Regions from separate parts of the Homo sapiens genome. Here all the other regions are linked to region 4. The links are contacts of gene promoters, found by promoter capture Hi-C in blood cells and fetal thymus (Javierre and others, 2016). All regions are on one chromosome and are shown on one strand. Each heading gives the region's core, a stretch centred on a gene start or on the middle of the fragment in contact. The rest is flanking DNA. Distances are from core to core; before and after follow the strand shown. Region 1 overlaps GUCY1B1 (guanylate cyclase 1 soluble subunit beta 1). Region 2 overlaps GUCY1B1 (guanylate cyclase 1 soluble subunit beta 1). Region 3 overlaps GUCY1B1 (guanylate cyclase 1 soluble subunit beta 1). Region 4 holds the start of PLRG1 (pleiotropic regulator 1).

Region 1 (5,218 bases), core at 1,194-3,693, 1.3 Mb after region 4:
CTGTTTATCACATGTAGTATAAACATAGCATTCATTTTAGTCCTCTGCAAGAGACATTTTTACTGAGATATATAAATGCTTTGTACAGTAAAGAAGTCATGAAGCATGAGAAGGACTCAGATTTGCGTTTAGATAACATCAACTTGAAGAAGATAAACATTTATAAGGCGTTTTTGCCCTTTGTTTCATTTAGAAATAAATATAATATTGGAAAAAAGAAGTCAGTGGAATATTGCTACATAAAGGCAAGAATGTTAAGTAAACCATCTCTAGATATCTGGGGTAATATAACTACACAAGGACTATTTATTTTATAGTCATTTTCTGAGGTACACTCTAGCATGTGGTGAGCACATCATACAAACAAATGATTAATGACCGTGATAAATCACTGAACTTGAAATGGTGGCTCTCCATGCCGTCAAGCCATCACTGTTTTAGGTAGAAATGTAAAAAATTATTCTTCTGAATTATAAAGTTATCTGAGGTGAGAAATTAATTGCTTACTAAAGGAAAAATAATTCTATGTCTGTACCTGCCCGTCATCAAAGACCCCAAGTGTCCATCATGTGTGTAAATTATAAGTAATTGCAAGGTTTCATTTTGTTGGAGTTGAATATATTAGAATTTTAAGAGAATTAAAGGGGGAGGGAAGCTTAAAGTTGCTGGTAGACTTGAAAAAATATGTTTTTTGTTAGGGTAATAAATGAAACAGTCTTTTTTATGCTAACCGTGAACATCTAAATATATGTACTGTTAGGTGGAGACTGTTGGTGACAAGTATATGACAGTGAGTGGTTTACCAGAGCCATGCATTCACCATGCACGATCCATCTGCCACCTGGCCTTGGACATGATGGAAATTGCTGGCCAGGTTCAAGTAGATGGTGAATCTGTTCAGGTTAGTAAATGAAGTAGATATTGTAATAATGGTATGTAAACCTTTTTGGACAATTGATTCATATCGTTGTCCGGAAAATCATTAACGTGTATAAAGAAGGGCATCTTGACAACAAAGACTATAGCATTTCATCCAGCCCACTGTACTACATTCTTTCATAGACATGGAGATTTATCTACCTGTTTGAAATTATCTAGTCCGTTTCATGTACTGAAAGTCATGGGGATGAGAAAAAAACCTCTTGTACCTTCTAGTTTATTTTTTAAAACCTCTTTCATGTCTCATGTAAGTTACTAGATTCACATCTTTGAAATCTTCAGACTTCAAATGTTTCTCTTGAGATAGGATATTTCCCTGGGGAGATAGAGATTTCATGGAGGGCTTTTGAAGTTGTCCATAATATGCTTGAAATTCTTATAGACATCTCTTACGATGTTATATGATGACTCTACATTATTCTGTAATATAAAGTAAGCAAAAATTCATGTGTTACAGGAACAGAAAACCAAACACCACATGTTCTCACTCATAAGTTGGAGCTGAACAATGAGAACACATGGACACAAGGAGGGGAACATCACACACCGGGACCTGTTGGGAGTTTGGGGGCAAGGGGAGGGAGAGCATTAGGACAAATACCTAATACGTGCGGGGCTTAAAACCTAGATAATGGGTTGATAGGTGCAGCAAACCACCATGGCACATATATACCTATGTAACAAACCTGCACCTTCTGCACCTGTATGCCAGAACTTAAAGTAAAATAAAAAAAAAAAAATTCATGTGTTAGTGATCAAAATGATTGAAGCAAAGCTTTCTTTTTTGCAGATAACAATAGGGATACACACTGGAGAGGTAGTTACAGGTGTCATAGGACAGCGGATGCCTCGATACTGTCTTTTTGGGAATACTGTCAACCTCACAAGCCGAACAGAAACCACAGGAGAAAAGGGAAAAATAAATGTGTCTGAATATACATACAGGTGAGAGAAAATGTCTTGGTATTTACTGATTTGCAAAGAAAATGTGTCTTTGCATGTGGTTTAATTCTCTGAGAGATTTTGTTGCTTTAACAGAGTTATCACCTTCACTCTTCCCCACTGCTTGTAGAGTTGTTTACTTTTTATTTGAGAAGATTGTGTCATTATTTCCATTTTATATGATTTCACATCATCTTAGGAAATCCTGATATGATCATTGTTTCTAAAGCTTTGAGTTACCTTTCAGTACAACTTCAGCATTTGTTCTTGCCATCTTGGTTTATAACATGATACATGTCACCTTCTCTATAAAACTTGTGTATACTTCTCTCTCTACTCCCCTTCCCTTGTCTTTTAGATGTCTTATGTCTCCAGAAAATTCAGATCCACAATTCCACTTGGAGCACAGAGGCCCAGTGTCCATGAAGGGCAAAAAAGAACCAATGCAAGTTTGGTTTCTATCCAGAAAAAATACAGGAACAGAGGTATGACTAATCAAAGTGTAATTTGCGTACTTAAGACAGAGTATAAGTATGGAAAACTAAAGCAAAATCACTGAAAATGTATTTCATTTGAAAAGAATTCTTGCTAACAGAAATTAACTTCTAAGTAAAGCAGTGGAAATAATTGAACATTAATGAGCCAATTACAATCATAAGTACTTTTTAGGGGATACTTTAGTGATTTTTGTCCTCTAATGAAATGAAAACCAACAGACTGGATTGAGAAGGCTGCTTTTTTTCTTGCTGTTGTGGTTGTTTTGCTCTTCCTCTGTAGTCTGGCTCAAAGGTAAGTGGGCTGTGAGGGGCTCCCCTGACCCCTTTCCTCAGCTCTCTAAGTTGGCTCTGAGATCACCACAGATAAGGGCTGTGGTTCATGGGAGGTTTCTTAACCATGAAGCTTAAGATCCTTTTAAGGGGCAGGCTATCTTTCTATGGAGTGATTGGGGAATTTTGGAAATCCTAGTCCCTCATGTGTTTCTCCTAGATAGATGAGTGATTTTTAACTTGCTAGAATCTGATTAATTCCTTAGGGAAGATTTAAGTTCTTTCTACTACTATGGTTATACTCCAGGCAGAGCCCATGTGCTAGAATGGACTTCAGAACAGTGGCACATCCAAAGTGGAATCACACCTCTCATAGAGGCCTTGCACACACTAAGATCATGGCTAGCCTCTTCCTAGCCTTTTGTAAGGAGTGGCATCAGAAGCAAGTTTGATACTTTGTTACCCTGTTGATGTGTTGTTTCCTCATGGGGGATAAGACTGCATGCTCATATTTCTCTTTTAGTGTGTATAAACTCTCTAAAGATGCTTTTAGGGCATAACAACTTCTAAAGGGAATAGAATGCCAGGGTTTGAAATATTTATCTTCTTTCACCTGGTTTAACATTAAATCATTTTCCTATGAGGTGGACATGCTTATTGATGTTCTTCTGATAAACTAAGCCGTAATTACCTCAAACATTGGTCATCTTAGTCGTGCGGTCCTGTTTTTCCCAGAATTATGGTGGGAATGATTTACAGAAACTGTAGATGTGAACGTGGATCACACTCTCATAAAGAGAAAAATATATTTAATTGATATTATAAACCTCACTATCACTGTAAATCAATCCCTCTTTTCTTCTGCCTATTTAAGGAAACAAAGCAGGATGATGACTGAATCTTGGATTATGGGGTGAAGAGGAGTACAGACTAGGTTCCAGTTTTCTCCTAACACGTGCCAAGCCCAGGAGCAGTTCTTCCCTATGGATACAGATTTTCTTTTGTCCTTGTCCATTACCCCAAGACTTTCTTCTAGATATATCTCTCACTATCCGTTATTCAACCTTAGCTCTGCTTTCTATTACTTTTTAGGCTTTAGTATATTATCTAAAGTTTGGCTTTTGATGTGGATGATGTGAGCTTCATGTGTCTTAAAATCTACTACAAGCATTACCTAACATGGTGATCTGCAAGTAGTAGGCACCCAATAAATATTTGTTGAATTTAGTTAAATGAAACTGAACAGTGTTTGGCCATGTGTATATTTATATCATGTTTACCAAATCTGTTTAGTGTTCCACATATATGTATATGTATATTTTAATGACTATAATGTAATAAAGTTTATATCATGTTGGTGTATATCATTATAGAAATCATTTTCTAAAGGAGTGAATTCTAAGTTTTAGGGGAAAAAATGCAATTTATTTTCAGACTCCCAAAGTAAGAATTAACATATCATGCTAAGAAAATAGTGACTATTTTGAAGTATGCTACTTCCCTTTCAGAAATATAGAATACACGTTTCTGTTATTAAAGTATTTGATTACTAATTCAAATCATATGGCAATTATAATTCTTCTAAAATGCTATCATTTGTAACTGTATCCCCTGTATTAAATCTCATTAACCACAGGCAGCTGTTACAGAAAGCTGCATTGTTTCACATTGAGCTGTTACATTAGTTCAGGCTAAATGTTGGGAGCTCCAACCACATCCAAGAATAAATCTGGAAACACACTGCTGGGATACTGCTGTTAGAGCCCTTCTTGGCCTTGTATTCCCAGAAATGAGCTCCCTTTCCTTAGCTTAGAAGAATGTGATTATATCCAGGACATCATGTTCAGAAAACTTAGTTTACTTTCAGCATAGAATGCATTACTGTTGGAATAATTGGCCTCTAGCTCTTAAATGTCTCTGATAACTTATTAATATCTATCTTTATAAAATAGAGTGCAACTACTTTTGTGTAAAAATGTTTGCCTTTAAATTTAGTATTTCATATCAGCACATCGATATATGTATAAATGTTCCATGTTAATGTGTAAAAGAGTCTGTAATAAATTATTTTTTTCACGTGTCTCTATACAGTTTTTATTTCAATAAAAATATTAACATTATTTTTCATTTTATTAATGCCATTATTTTGTAAATACATTTTACAATTTTGCCTATTTGCTACCATTATAAATTTTCACTGACTCCTCATAGACAGCATATTCTTAAATGCTATATTTCTTTTTAATACCAACAGAGTGACAGGAAATAAAGACTGGGCATGGAAAGGGGAAACAGTTAAATATTGAATGTCATCAGCTTATTTAAAGAGCTCTGAATCATTTAGGGATGATAGACATGTATACAAGTAATGAAAATATGCGATATTCATAATGAAGAAATATATTCAAATGCAGAAATAATACTTAGAGAAAGAGTAACTTGAAAGAAAAGAGGTGAAGTGGGGATAGTTGTTATGCTTATTTTGGGGGGAGAGTTAGGAATACTCAGAAACTACATTGACACTGTCATCTTCCCAGAATCCTGCATATATTTATTTAGCATCTACTTTG
Region 2 (5,331 bases), core at 1,630-4,129, 1.2 Mb after region 4:
AAATTACTGCAACAGTCTCTCCCATCTCACATGCATTTCTGTAGTATGATTTTGCCTCTTCCTTGCGGGAGGTAAAATTCTCTTTTCCTTGAATCTGGGTTGGCTTTAGTGACTATTTAACCAATCGAATGGGGCAGAAGTGAGATATTTAAACTTCCTAGGCTAGAGTACAGGAAGTCTTGGTTTCCTTCAGGGTATCTTGGAACAGTTGCTGTTGCGATGGTACCTCTAGAAACCCAGACACATGAAATGAGAAGCACAAGCCACATGGAGAGGCCACGTGTAGACTGGCAGATAGCAGTTCTAGCTGGGCTCTCAGCAAAGAGCTGGAAATAACTACCAGCCATTTGATTGATCCATCTTGGAAAACCAGCCTGCTCCGGCATTCTGATAATTTCAGCCCAGTTTCCATCTGATTCCGTCCCAAGGGTAGAACTTTCTAATTTAGCCAGACAACCCACAGAACCATGAAAAATAACAAATAAATTATTAAAGTTGTTTGACATACAGCTATGGATAACTAGACCACTACTCTGTGCATTATTTTTCCCTTTATATTTTATGTCTGTGTTAATATGTGTGTATATGCTTGTACAATGAGTCAAGAGCTTTGAGAAAGCTGTATTTGATAAGATAATCTATTACCCCTGGGAATAGGAGCCATGTCAGTCCCAAACAGGGCTACCAATTCAATTTCGATGGTATTACATTATTATTACATTATATTGTTTTTACCTCCCCTACAAATTTACAGAGTTAAAATGCAATTAAAATGAGCAGCGAAGGCTGCCAGGTTGACTATGAAAATATACGTGGGCAAATGCAATTTTAGAGAACAGTTAGGATTTAAATTATGACCTAATTTAAATTAGAACTCAGGTGAATAGTTAGATCAGCGTTCTTTCATTATTTGCTGGAGACACTGGCTTCTTCAACTAACCTTGATATGTTGACAGTTTCAGTCATTCACTCAACTCAGATATATTTGAGTTTATCAACTAGCGCCTCTGTTCAGCCTGCCATGGGATTTTCTTCAATTCCTGTTGGCTCCAGGTTTTGACTTATTAAATACAACATTGTGATTTGGCCACCAGGAACAATCTGAGATTGATGACTGATCTAATTCTTAAATGTTTGTGCAAAGGGTTATTTTAGGAAATATGAGGATTTTCCTGAACAGCTGTAAAATTCTAATACTTCCCTAAATTATTTATATTTCTTAAGAAAAAAGAGCACCATTCACTTTATTTTTAACTTTGGAATTTTAAAAAAGAGCTGTTTTCTCAGCATCCACAACGCCAATTTCTATAATCCAATAATAAAAATAGTTTTATTTTTTAAAAACTTATGAAGGAAGATAAGAAGTATTCCAGAATTGTAAGGCTTTTCAGTTTGAATAACTGGTATATATTTTCATAATTTTTCAAAATATTGATTAATTGTTACATGTAGTATTATATAGACTGGATCTTTTTTAACATGAGTTTAAAAGCAATAGAATAAGAGAAATATTTTAACTGTTTTTCTTTAATTAAAATATTTCCTTGGAGAGGATGGTAATGATAAATTGATATAGCTTTAACGCTATTTCCATTTAAATAATTTTAGTGACTCTGGTACAGTTTCTTTTTAAATAGAGATTTTCAATGTTTCTTTTAGAAAAGAATCTCTATATCTTTTCAGTTGAAAAGCTATTTAATTCTCAAGAAGCAGCTCCAGGAAGAAAAGGCAGGAAAAGTATTATGAAAGCATTCACTTCCTACTCCAATCTCATGCTATTTACTTTGGTGTTTCTCATCATCTAGGGTTTGATGTTCCATTTTACTTAGGTCGACTTTGTTTAAATGTTTTATCTTCAAATTCCAAAATGACTTTTTTCTTATAAAACTTAACAAAATATTTTTTAAATTACATGACTCTCATTAAAGAATGTTGGTGTTGGTCCTATTTTTCAGAGGTGTGAGGGATAGAAAGAAAGGAAATACTATACCTCATCCTCCTTCATTGAAAAACAAAAAGAGGTTTGCAATGACTGGTTTTAAAGATTTCTTGCAGATCTAAACTGCAGTAATATTCTCAACACAGACAACTCCCTTCTCCCCATCCACTAAAACAAGGATTCTTGGATACTGAAAATGTTTTTCTTTAAAACGTTCAAGGCAAGGTCTTACCCATTTCTGTGGATCCTTTAAAAAATTTAATTAGATGTCCTTGAAACAGGAAAATCAGGTAGTTGACTTCTGGGGACTTTGCCCCTGTAATTATGTAAGAACTTATTTTTGGCATGCATATTACAAAAAGAAAATGTGCATTTATTTTGAAACATCCCAAGATCTTTAAAAATGTGACACTTTATTACTCAAAGGAATGATAAATTGTCTTTTGTTTTCTAAATCTGTGAAGTGTACTATGTCTGAAATTCCAGTAGAGTACCCCAGAATACCAGAACTAATTTTTCTTTTATAAATGATAAATGCAAGGTGATAAAATAAACTAGACTGACAGGGAGCAGAATTCCTGAGTAGAAAAACCACATTCATTTGCTTGTAGAAAAACAATAAAATGATATTAGAACATTAAGAAATGAAATTATTAAATTAAAACCTTTAGGTATCTCAAGATATCAAAATAGATGAATGGACCTACTCTCTATATTTTTCCTGTTTTTTGATTTTATGAAGCCTAGAAGAATGAATCAAAGCATATTTCAGATTTACATCATTGTTTCCTGGGAATCTACTTGTGCTGCAATGTAAGAGTTTACATTTTTTCAGTGTCTTTTTTACTTTCATACATATGGACATACTTCTTTGCAATTGGCCACACAGCTCTTTACTTTCTGTAAGTGCTTCTGTGGGTATATTTAGAAATAACACAGAATATCAGTTTTGATATGAAACTCTTATTCCCCAGAATACATTGTTAGAGCAATGTGGATGAACTATCATCTTTGTTTAGATAGCATTATCAAATGTAGAAAGGGTTTTCTCTTGGCCATTGTAAGAATCTTTTTGTAGCAAAAAAAAAAAATTGTAGCCTGTATATGAGGATGACACATTTATTAGCAATATAAGTGTACTTAAATGAAAATAACTTTTAATCATTAATCTCATTTCTTGTAATAGTCTGGCTGTGGTAATTACTTTAAATTTTGAAAGAGTAAAGCCAAGTAAGGAAGGTTGTAACTCAAGAAATCCCAAGAGTATTTTTTATATTAGATACTATCTAAAGAAAATCAATATTACATTAAGTGGTGTTCAATCTTTTATGATTCAGGAGAGCACTTTACTTGTTCAATTAACTAATAGTAAATTCAATAACACAGTAAATCTCTGGAGAGTTGGTTACTGCAAAAAGACAGAAAAGGTGAACATTCTCATTTGGTGTTTTTGGTATCCTTTGGTGAGGGTGCAGTGCCTATCTTTAGTGACTCAGGAAGTACTGACTTGGATGATTGTGTCCACTCTCTGACTTGCCCCAGCATAAGTGGTGCCAGTGACATAAGTGGTGCAAGTCGTTATTGCCTTATGCCATCTGCTTGAGTGAAAGTAGAAATGTTTTAATAATCCAGTAAAAAAGATGAGTATGAAAATGATATAAGCACATTGGTACATTGATTTATGAAATATGTAAGCATTCTGTATAGAAAAAATATTAAAATGCCTTTTTGAAGTTATTGTTTGGTTCAATTTCCTTTTTTTTTTTTTTTTTTTTGAGGCAGAATCTCACTGTGTCGCCCAGGCTGGAGTGCAGTGGTGAGATCTGGGCTCACTGCAACCTCCACCTCCTGGGTTCAAGCGATTCTCATGCCTCAGCCTCCCAAGTAGCTGGGACTACAGGCATGCCCCACCACGCCTGGCTAATTTTTGTATTTTCTTTCTTTCTTTTTTTTTTTTTTTTTTTTTTTTTTGAGATGGAGTCTCACTCTGTCGCCCAGGCTGGAGTGCAGTGGCGAGATTTCGGCTCACTGCAAGCTCCACCTCCCGGGTTCATGCCATTCTCCTGCCTCAGCCTCCTGAGTGGCTGGGATTACAGGCACCCACCGCCACACCCTGCTAATTTCTTTTTTTTTCTCTTAGTAGAGACGGGGTTTCACCGTGTTAGCCAGGATGGTCTTGATCTCCTGACCTTGTGATCCGCCCGCCTTGGCCTCCCAAAGTGCTGGGATTACAGGTGTGAGGCACCGCGCCTGGCCAATTTTTGTATTTTCAGTAGATGTGGGGTTTCACCATGTTGGCCAGGCTGGTTCTCGAACTCCTGACCTCAAGTAATCTGCCTGCCTCCGCCTCCCAAAGTGCTGGGATTACAGGTGTGAGAGCACGCCTGGCCTCAATTTCTTTTTTAAGTGAGCCAACAACACAGTACCTGGGCCTGACTCTATTAGAAACATTTTCTAAATGCAGCCACAAGCTCAATTTTGACTTTGTGAGAAATGCAGATAAAAATAAAACTCTCTCAGTGATTTTTTTTTTCTCACCCGATTTTCTTTCACAAAATGTTTCACAACATAAGTAGAAGTATAAGGGGTCTGAGAGGGCTATGAAGCAGTTCTCAGGTCGTCCCTTCTAAGGGAAGAGTCCTAATGAGAATGATTCATCATTGGAAGAACCTCTCATACTATTCAACCAAGTAAAACAGTTTTAGGACTCCGGGGTTTGTAGGTTATATATACCTCTTCAATACTTAGTGGCTGCCATATTGGATTACTTTTACATGGCAATAGCAGCCTCTAGAGGCAATCCGGATGAACTGATGTTTTTGCTAAGAATTAGCTTGACTCCATCAGGTATAATTGTGGGGAAGGAAACAGTAGATGCAGACGGTTCAAAAAGTCACCAGATTTATCGAGTTGAGGAGGTCATTGAATCATTTATCTGGATTAGATTGTCAAACTTCATGACCTAGCTCAAATCACATCTTCAGTTTGAAGTATTTTTAACTCCATTCTTTCAGTCTGAATTGTTGGCTTCCTCATTTGCTCATCAAAAGCCACTCTACACATCCATTTGTGATATAAACCATGAGCTGCTTAATCCTCATCATGCAGATCTGCATCCAAACATCTACCCTGCACCCAAGCCCACATGACACAGTGTATGATATATAATGCACATACAATAACATTATAGAGTGAATGCATGATTGAGTGGATGTGTGGAAGGGACAGAAAATTAATGCTGTAAGTGTCCTGTTAGAGTATTGCTCAAATGTGGACACCCGCGGAATCATCTCATTCTCACCGTAGTTTCCTCCCAGTAATCTCACTGGATTTTTCTGTTTTTCTAAATTGACCTCTTTGAGACATTTGGAATGAAAGCCATAGTTTAATTT
Region 3 (5,472 bases), core at 990-3,489, 1.2 Mb after region 4:
AATTTTTAGAGCAGAATAAAAGATGGCTATTATGATTAAACAGTCATTATGTAATTTAACCAGATTTAGATTGTATATCCTAGCCATTATCAGTTTAGATCACTGTTAAATACAGAGATGAAAAATAATACTTTATAGAGTAATGTATCAGACATTTTAAAAAGTTAAAATTATCCAGAGATTTGTTTATATTGCTTATATTTTCCCAGAGGAAGTCCAAATATGTAAAGATTCAATTGACGAGAATTTAACTCTGCAAAATCAAGCTGAGAATATTGTTCCATTCTACTTTAAAAAATTATTTATTAACTTACTAATTTATCTTTAAGTAGCTTCCAACAGTATTCATAATTTGTCTAAAGGATAAAAATTCCAATCATCCACAACACAATTTTTCTGGTAAAAATGAAACAAGTTATATTGGTCTTTTCTTAAATAAAATTGCCTCAAGGTTATGCCCCTGCAAGGGAAAAAGTGTTAGTCACACTGGTGTTGGTAATCCAGGTGTTAGTGTTGATTCTTTATTTGTCTAAGCATCTTTTGGTGGACCCCAGCTGATCTTGGGTGTGGTTTAGTGTCTGGGCTAGAGAACATGGTTGAACTCTCTGCACTGAGGGCATTAAAGCTGCTCCTTGGTTTCCAACCCAATACCCCTGAGTAATTACTAAATGCTCCCTGGGAGAGCATTTGCTTTCCACAGAAAAGAATCTTGCTGCCTGGGGAGAGGGGAGGAGAACCTGGAGGAGTGTAATTGAAAAATGCTCCTTGGGTGATTCTGGTTCCTCCTCCCCTCCCTACCCTCTGCTTCAGGGAATATTAAAGCAGTCATTGGTCCAAGATGCTTTCAGTTTTAACTTTTATAAGAAATTGAATATAAGAGGAAAAACATTTTTTTTTGTCTCAGTAAGTACCAAACTCTTATTTTTTCTTTTGGTCTTTGAGAAACTATCTAAATTGATGTTTATACAAATTTACATTATACTTTTTTGCTTCACTAGGAAATGGCCATCCATCCTTCATGAGAAAGGATGGGAAAAGATGCCAAACATTTAATGACAAATAAAACCCTAAGTAACAGATTCCAGACAGCAGACAGAAAATTCTAAGTGGATAAGGGCCAAAAATGCTTCATTGTAAACTCAGTATCCACTTACACTCTTACCAACAATATAACCATTTCACAAAAGCTTTGAATTCCTCTTAAGAAGAAGAAAAATTGTCTAGACCAAGGGCCAGCAAACTTTCTCTTAAAGGGCCAGATAGTAAATGTTTTAGGTGTTACAGGCCAAGGTAAAACTGAGGATATTATGTAGGAATCAATATAACTATTAAAAATATAACCACTTAAAAATATTAAAACCATTGTTAGCTCTTGGACCAGGAAAACGCAAACAAACAACCAAACCAGACAAAGTGGGCTACATGTGATCCATGGGCTATAGTTTGATGACCTCTGATTTAGACCATAACAAATGTGAAAAAGCAAAAGAGACCTCTGAATCCATTTCAAAGTTTTTTTTGTTGATTTCATTTCAATATTCAAATAGTCCTTTTAAGAGGCTATGATTTCTAAGTAATGACAAAAAAATTATCAGGGTAGAAAATAAATAAAGTTAGGAGTGATACATCCTAGAAAAGCACCTAAATACTTGATTTCCCATCTCTGTTATCCTTCCATCAGCCCTGACTAAACTCATCATTGCGTCAAATTACTGGGTTTAATTTTAGATTTTTTCTCTGCTTTCTTTCCATATTTTTTCTGGGTAGCAGCGGAGGGAAGCAGTTAGAGACAGGTCTTGCTGTGTGCCCAAGCTGGTCTCAAACTCCTGTCATCAAGTGATCCTCTTGACTCGGCCTCCCAAAGTATTGGATTATATGCACCACCACACCCAGCCCAACTTTAGATTTTTTAACCTCACTGAAACATACAAATTAGGAAGATAGATCCAAAACACTGAAAAATCCCAAATGATTAAAAGTCTGTAAAGAAAGTACACTGTCCTGACTTAAATAAATCAGATAAAACGTTTATCTTTAATGAGTATAGTCAAGTGTTTTAGGCACTGAGGATAGAAAAGCAATGATGTAATCCTTACCTTCAAAAAAAAAATTCTAGAGATTTCATGATATTTTAGTCTTATTATTTTGTTTTTATTTTCCTGCCTATAACTCAAATACGGTAACCTTTTGTCTGTTGGATAGCATATACTTCCAGTTTTGAAATTAATGTGTCTTGTTAAATTTGCTAATCACAAATTAATCATTATGGTTCAAATAAGGAAACACTTTGCTATAAACTAGTTATGGGACTTTCCAAGTTGCCTAAACTTTCCAATCCTCCATTGCATAGAGGAAAAAATAATACTTCACAGAGCTGATGTAATGCATTGAATAATGTCTGCAAAATGCTTAACATAGTTCTTGACAATAGCTTAATAAATGATGATTTTTTTTTATTTTACTCTAGAATCAGAGTTTTTAAACTTTCCGTTCCCCAATTTACTTGAAAGATATTAAGCCCTCCTTTAAAAAATATTATTGCAGTCTATATTCTATCAGTCTAAATTTTTTTTATCACTCTAGGATAAGTAATCATCATCATCATCATTTTTCATCATTTTGTTTTGAAATGCAACAAATGCTCTTAATATCCATTGTATCAAAGCAAATTAAAACAAACAAAAGAGCACATCACCATGTTTTGCCGTGTTTATTCAGATTTTCATATTTTTGAAGGTGTGATTTAAACTTCTATACCTTTCTGTAGATCTGCTTAAGTAGTAATGAGCCTATGTATGTTTTAAAGTAGTAAGGATACTTTATATTATAAAGCAATTTCAAATTTCCAAAGTTTTGTTCTCTCTATAATTTTGGTTGACTGCTACAACATCCATTTGAAATAGGAAAGGACTTTACAGCTCAATTTTTTTAATAACAAAGTTGGTTTTCCAAGAGGTTAATTCCCATATGTAATTACTTACTGTCCCAGAGAATTACATATAGGAAACTGAAAAGTCAGAACTTCAGCCCTTGTTCTTCTGTTGCCAGGTTTAATGCTTCTTTTAAGATATAACTGTGAAATAGGAACTAATGTAGTATACATACAAAAATGAAACCACATTTATTTTCTTACCCAGAAACTTCCTCAGTACAAATAAACACATTAATATACAGACTAAGGAAACAAGTAAACCAGATCATTGTTAGGATCAGGATCCTTTTCTGTAGAAAGATCTGCCAGTTAGCCTGAAATACAGAGGAAGGCGTTGCATTGTATTGTGTGTTGGCTGTTAAGCTTACTAATGTTTGAAGTTATCTTTTGCAGCTGGAACTGGATGCCCAAGTGTATACTCCATCACATACCTGCTATTGAGCTCTTTGCATAGGGCTCTTCCAGAACCTGGACCATGTCTGTGAGCAGCATGGCAGGCACCTAGGTGATAAGGCGGGTCATCACATGATCTCAGGGAGTTTGTGGGTGTTTCTTTTGAGTTTTATTTTGGTTCTGATGATCTGAGGTATCCCCCAGAAATCAAGCTGGGTCTTGGAGTCTTTATTTTCCTTGCATTCTGTGATTTTTGAGAATTAAAAAAAAAATCAGAGGAGTACATCACTTAATTTGGCGTGTCGGAAGGATCTTTGCACATTACGGTGAGCATCAGAAATCAGAAAATCTGTATTCTCACTCTTAATGTACCCAGATCTAGTTTTGGCAAACATTTACTAAGCATTGTTATGATTTGCAAGAACAAAGTCCTTTCTACTTTCTTGCCTTTCTCCAGAATAAGGGGCTCTAGCAAATGTTTCTCTTTAATGTGTTGGAAAACTATAGTTATGGGTTGATGCTCTGCAGACATCAATAGGAAAACACACTTAAGGAAATGAATGCTATAAAGAAATCTAACTGGCTAGATCCGAGGGTGACAGCTCAGCAGACGTGAGTACTTGCAGCTTTTTCATTCTCTCCTTTGCCTCCTTGTTCGTTAAAGAGGAAATGGTGGGAGAAAAAATGTCTTTATTGTTTATGTCTAGCAAAATGAAGCATCTTTTTCTGTGTCAAACTATATCAAAAGATAGTGAAGTTAAAGTGGATTTTATTCCAGGTAAAAGTAGACATTCTGAAGTATTTATTGGACCTCCTCGTTACTGTGGCTTTGGTTCTGTTGCATATTCTGGTCTACTTCCCCTTCATTGTTGAATCATGAAATATGAAATTGTTAAATTTATTGAAATTCTTTGTGGTCAATCTTCAGATAACCCAAACATGGAAACCTTTCACTCAACTTGTCCTACATACCCTTAGCATTCCAGCCCCATGGGCCTGTTTTTAGTTTCTCAGCCATACCGAGCCTTAAATGTGTCCGTTTAACACCTGTGCTTGCTATGGTCTCCTTTTCTTCACCCTCCCAACCCTCCTGTAAATGTAAACACCTCTCAGCTTTGAGATGTCAAAGCAAATGTCACTTCTTAAGGGAACCTTCTCTCACATCCAAACTTTTCCCTTTCCTTCATAGTGCTGTAATGCAAGAGTTTGTACTTAGTATTTGTACTACTGATTAATGTCTATCCTCCATGACAATAGCCTCCATAACTCTTTCTAGAGTGCTCTCTCTCTCCCTCTCTCTATGTATTCAATAAAATATCAGGCTCTCTTTCTGTAATAAAAATATGGATGTTTATATGTGAATGAAGTATCTTTCACCTTTTTCATTTCCAAAGAATAGAGCACACACATATTTTTATCAAAGATTCTTCTCTGCAACCAGAATTTATGTCAGCATGGTGACATATTCAACTACTATTTAAATATAAGCTGTTTTCAAATAGACATTTCTTTTTCTCCAAGATTTATTGAGATATAATTGACAAATAAAAGTTATATATATTTAAGGTGCACAACTTCATGTTTTGATGTACATATACATTGTGAAATAATCACTGTAATCAAGCCAATTGCCATATTCATCACCTCACATAGGCACCCTCTTTTTTTGTAGTGAGAACACTTAAGACCTCCCCTCTTAACAAATTTCAAGTATTCATTATAGTATTGTTAACTGTAATTGTTCATTGTAATTGTTAATAGTGACATTGCTGTGCCAAATAAACATTTCTTATATCAGCAAAGGCAGAAGATAGAGCAATATAGCAATACATAATAGCAATTCCTTTTGGAAGTGTCAGAGTTCTTTTATGTTTTCTCATGTCATGTGGATGTATTGGAAGGACTAAGAACTCTATTGTTAGAATGACAATTTCATATGTCAAAAGACAATTACTAGATTGGATTCAGGACATGATTGAATCCTTTAGCAAGTTTCTAAAAGGCAGGGATGTGTGGTGCTGTTTAAAGTCAGTGTCATAGACTGTAACTCAGTGTTTAGAATACTGAAATTAAATTTGAAATCCAGCTGAGCTCTCACCATGTCATGCTATTTCGAATGTAATATGTCACGTATATTAAACACATAC
Region 4 (4,935 bases), core at 1,749-4,248:
CAGACAAGATAGATGGTGTCCTCACAGGTTAAGAATATTCTCCAATTTTTTCCTTTAATCTCTACTGTGACCTTCTCCACACTCTAAGAATCTCTGCCATCATTATACTACCATTTTTATTTCCTATAAGAAAAAAGTCATCAACAGTATTCCCATGAGGATCAAAACTTCCATTATAATACAGGTACGGCCATTAAATACTGTACGACCACAATAAGTCCTGCCAGGAGGGGCAAAAATAACATATTTTATTTTTCTGTTTTTAAAATTCACATATAAGTCTGACATTTCTGATAATACCATACTCACCTTGATTGGCAGGGTACTGTTTATGAACATATGAATCCGTTGCATTCTGAGGACCCTTCTCTTTAAGATTTTCTTTTGAAGTAGGCATATGCAACACAGGACCATACTCATTACGAAGCTTGATTGCCATTTTTCGTTTGTGACTATTTAGAAATTATAAACATAAGAACGTATCCATAAATACTTTAAAACAAACACTTAGCTTAAGTTTGCCCATTCACGTAGAAAAAGTTTCTAGTATGATTTTAAGTAGTATTTAAAAGAATCAAAAATTTCCAAGGGCATTTCCCCACCATATCTGTTCTTTTGCTTACATTCGACCACACAGCATTCATTAAACCTACGTAATATTTTAGTTTGTTACCTAATAAATAGAAAACCTTTTATGATAAATTGTCAAGGGTCTGACTGAAAGATATACAGAAACTAACATACCCTTTAAGAAACCTCAAAGTCAATATACTTTCCTTCAAAATATAAATATAGTAAAAACTCTATAGCAACCTTTACTAGATGTATCCAAACAGGTTAGTTAGAACTAATCAAAGTACTTAATTGGTTCAATATCTTAAAAAGAAATGCATTTATATTACTTTTAAAAATAGTCTACTTTATAAATTAAATATAAATGCTTGTTTGAGGAGTTAAGTAGATTTTAAAAAGGTAAAGGACAAAGAAGGAACACTGCACATAATGCATTCCCAGACTGGAGCTGGATATGTAGAACCAAAAATATGCCACCACTCAAAAATCTTCATCATACTAACGAGAAAAGATGGGAGTAGAGGTACTAGCCAGGTACAATTTCAGCTCAGCAAGGCTCTGAGAGCAGCGGGAAGCTGAAAGCACATACAAAGTGATTGATTATAAAATAAAATACCTAAAAGGGACTCTCTTAATTACTGGGTATTTGTAAAATGCAATTAATTAATGGAACTTTTACTGTAAAAGGCCAAAAAAAAAAGTTAAATCAGCTTAAATTATGCCAAAACACCACTCATTATTGAATAATTAGCCCATGACTAGCTTATCTTTAAAGGACTCCCTCTCCCTGCTCTCTTCCCCTAGTATTAGAATGTTAAGTATTTTAGCAATTGAAAAAAAAAAACTACACCAACCTCTCTTCATCTAAAGGCACAGGTTTTCCATTATCAGCTACAAACATGTCATGGGTCCTCTTCAACGACCTGAACACAAGGGTGTGTACAGAATGTTTCTGTACCTCCTAAAAAAAAAGAATGTAATTACACACCTATCTACAAATTACACAAATCATAACCTAAAGTCAGATTGATTATACACTTCACGTGTTTAAATATGTAAAAAGCTTTATACCACTCACCATAGCTACTTGTTGCAAGCTACAGGAGTCAAGTTCAGAGAAGAGGAGGAAGCTCCTCTTTGGCTAGAACCTCAGGTTTAGCAACTGAGTGATGCCGGAGTTTAACTTACTCAATAAATATTTACTGAGCTCCTACTGTGTGTCTGGCAGGTATTGTGCTAGAATCTCACAATAGAATGATAAAAAGGTGGTCATGGTCCCTGTGCTCAAGAGGAAACAGACAAATAAAAAGTAAAATAATTCCACATTTTGATAAGTGCTATGAAGGCAACAAGCAAGGCGCTGAGTCAGGGAATGAAGGACTAAGTATAATTGTGAAAGATTTCACTAAGGTGATATTTAAGCAGAAAGGGAGTTAGCCTTGCACAAAACAGAGGTAAGAACGAACCAGGCTGATGGAAATGTCATGTAAAAAAAAGTTCAGTTAACTGAAATAATACAAGGAGCGCAGTACAGCTGTGTATGGAGGATGAGATGGTGCTTTGTAGCTGCAAGGGTAGACAAGGTCCAGATTAGGTAAGGTCTTTTAGACTATTACAACAGCCTATATTTTGTTCTAGCAACATAGGGTCAGTAAAGGGTTTTAAACAAGAAAGGTATGAACAACTTACGTTTTAAACAGAACAACTTATAGAACAAAATGGAAGCAAGGAAACCAACCAACGGGGAGCTAATGCACCAGTCCAGGTGAAAGATGATGTTGGTCTCAATTAAGGTGGACTGCAGCGGATATGGAGAAGAGTGAATGGAATCAATAAACATGTGGGGTAAGATGGACAAGACCAGCTAACAGCGTTGGCTGTTCATGCCAGGGAAAGATGTAAAGAACGGCAAGTTTTTCTGGGGGTAGAGGTGAAATAAGAGACGACCTGAACGCAAGATAGAGAAGACTACCAATCTTTTAGGGCACAGACTCACTGACACTGCCCCGAGGGCGGCAAGTACCAGTGGTCGATCACCAACAGAGGCCCCGCCTCCGAGGACACTTTCCAGCTCCCAAGAGTCAAACGAGGACTGGACGAATTATCTCAGGCTTCGCGCCCAGGCTGAACCTCCGACTCGGGTTCTCATCCGGCTTCTACCCCTTCCCCGAAAACCCGAAGAAGAGACCACTCGGCCTTGGCCAAATAGCTCCCCTCGTAGCCTCTTTTCTCTCTGGACTCCAAGTACTCTCAATCCCCCACGCGCACTGCCAAAAAAAACAGTCCAGAGACAAACGACTCTTGAGAGCCCCAGTGTCACTTTACCTCGACCATGATGCTACCGTGTATCCCACCTCCGGCAGGGAAGAAACTCTAATCACTAACGCAGTACCCGCCGCCACAGCTGTGCAGCACCTTCCGGAATTGGGCGCCCAGGCGGCGGATGTGATGCAAGCTCTGCGCACGCGCGCTAGTCTCCCTCGGCCATCTAGGATCAGGAGGCGGGTCTCCCTCCTCGGGACCGCCTCTAGGGCGGAGTCTCGAGGCTGAAAGCCGGAGACTCCTGGAAGGGCCTGGGTGGAGGGTTTCACTCGTCCCTCTGAAGAAATCTTAGAATTATGTTTTCTGCCTTAGTTGGGGTCCTGGTTGTTCGTGCTGTATTCCCCGGAAGCTTAACGCTTTTTATTCAGAGAACCTAAGCGTCTGGAGAGCAAACTCCCGTGGGCTCTATCTAAGGCATTTCCACTACCTTGATCTCTTTGGAGGTCGCCTGCGTGCTTTGTGTCTCCTGGTTCTAATCCTGGCGAGAAGCACTTGGACACTTGTAGGCTTAACACCTGAAAACAATTTCGCTTAAACAGTCCAGTAAACACTTGTTAAGTGAACGTTGAGGAATAGCTGTTTTAATTTGGAAAATTTTGACATGTAGTTATAACAAAACCCCATATTTATTTTCTGCTAATAGATTTTTTTTTTTAATTTCTCAAAACTGCATAGCTCTTGTCCATTTCCTAGTTGCCTGCTGATTATTGTGGCTTCAACAATGCCAGGGTACAGCTTTTCAAAGCTGGTAGAAGACACAATTGGAGACTTTAGCCATTTTTATTTATACATATCCTTGTGCCAAGTATTGGTATTTTTGCTTTCTACCCTGGTAAAATCTGTGGTTTGTGATCAACCCTACCCAATTATTTTTCTATGTAAAAAAAAAAATGGATGGACTTAGGCATTTACAAACTTAAATAGACAAACATTTTACTGGCCCTGTTTCAGTTTCACTAATCCTGTCCTGAGAGCATACTGCTTACACTTTGAGAGGGGGAAAAAATCTAGCAAAAGAATAGCAATATAAATCAACCTTACTTGGAAATTCATTAAAAACATTAAGGTCATGGGTTTTTGTTTGAGACAGAGTTTCGCTCTTGTCGCCCAGGCTGGAGTGCCATGGCGCGATCTTGGCTCACTGCAACCTCAGCATCCCAGGTTCAAGCTATTCTCCTGCCTCAGCCTCTGGAGTAGCTGGGATTACAGGCGCCCGCCACCATGCCCGGCTAATTTTTGTATTTTTAGTAGAGACAGCGTTTCACCATGTTGGCCAGGCTGGTCTTGAACTCCTGACCTCAGGTGATCCGCCCGCCTCGGCCTCCCAAAGTGCTAGGATTACAGGCATGAGCCACTGAGCCCTGCCTTAAGGTCATGTTTTTACTTGAAGATACAGCATCTCTGAATTTAACTGTGAGTTTGGCCTAAGAATTGCTTTTCTGTAAAGGTGGCAGGTGATGGTATTTCCTTGCAAGAAAATACCATAATTGTAAAATATATACTTGATGAACTAAATAATATACTCACCTATTAATAATAACTATAGAAAATAACATGATTTGAAATGACAATAAAACCATAGAAACCTAAGCAAGACTAATATATATGGCAATATATTAATTGTCTAGTTGGATCTATTAACTTTTTACATATTTAATCATCCTGGAGACATTAATTTAATTTCTCAATAACAACATGGTAATGATTGAGGTAAATTGCCTCGAATTTGCTCCTTTTAAAACACTGTCGTGAATTTATAGAATGATGTCATCCCCTTGAAAGTTTACAATATTTTAGATAAATATAGAACTCAAGTGACCCTATTATTTAGTTCAGGGATTCATGAATTATGTATATTGTAGGAAAATTTTGTATTTATATGGGAATATGTTTTATTTTCTGGAGAAAGGATCCACAAGTTTAATTGGATTCCTGAAAGGCTCCGTCATACACACATGGCCTGGCTGACACCCGAAGCTGCCTTATTTGAACAGCAGGTGTCACCACTGCTCTTTGTACGGGCCCTCAGGGCTGTCCTTA

What was found. The method cuts DNA at HindIII sites, captures the fragments that hold promoters and counts their contacts. A CHiCAGO score of 5 or more calls a contact.
Region 1: a contact is called between a fragment that was not itself captured here and the fragment with the promoter of PLRG1 in region 4, in 2 of 17 cell types (total B cells and naive B cells). The highest score is 7.9, in total B cells.
Region 2: a fragment that was not itself captured here is called in contact with the fragment with the promoter of PLRG1 in region 4 in 3 of 17 cell types (naive B cells, monocytes and total B cells); the score reaches 8.2 in naive B cells.
Region 3: a contact is called between a fragment that was not itself captured here and the fragment with the promoter of PLRG1 in region 4, in 2 of 17 cell types (monocytes and total B cells). The highest score is 6.3, in monocytes.

What each region holds. Positions count from the first base shown.
Region 1 is chr4:155,802,864-155,808,081 of GRCh38, forward strand. It overlaps GUCY1B1 (guanylate cyclase 1 soluble subunit beta 1), which reads left to right. Exons shown (of 14, transcript NM_000857.5): 11 at 761-901; 12 at 1,730-1,884; 13 at 2,240-2,366; 14 at 3,523-4,948. The coding sequence ends at 3,546. Among named protein-coding and RNA genes, the nearest start is that of GUCY1B1, 46 kb to the left of the region's middle. The HindIII fragment of the contact is 671 bases long and covers 2,109-2,779 here.
Region 2 is chr4:155,782,578-155,787,908 of GRCh38, forward strand. All of the region lies in intron 4 of GUCY1B1 (guanylate cyclase 1 soluble subunit beta 1), which reads left to right. Among named protein-coding and RNA genes, the nearest start is that of GUCY1B1, 26 kb to the left of the region's middle. The HindIII fragment of the contact is 5,993 bases long and covers 1-5,331 here.
Region 3 is chr4:155,761,446-155,766,917 of GRCh38, forward strand. The region is part of intron 2 of GUCY1B1 (guanylate cyclase 1 soluble subunit beta 1); the gene reads left to right. Among named protein-coding and RNA genes, the nearest start is that of GUCY1B1, 5.2 kb to the left of the region's middle. The HindIII fragment of the contact is 2,108 bases long and covers 1,186-3,293 here.
Region 4 is chr4:154,547,402-154,552,336 of GRCh38, forward strand. PLRG1 (pleiotropic regulator 1) reads right to left here and starts at 2,999. Exons shown (of 15, transcript NM_002669.4): 1 at 2,899-2,999; 2 at 1,428-1,534; 3 at 310-452. The coding sequence starts at 2,907. RefSeq lists enhancers at 3,103-3,152, 3,173-3,332, 4,716-4,935. The HindIII fragment of the contact is 1,608 bases long and covers 1,635-3,242 here.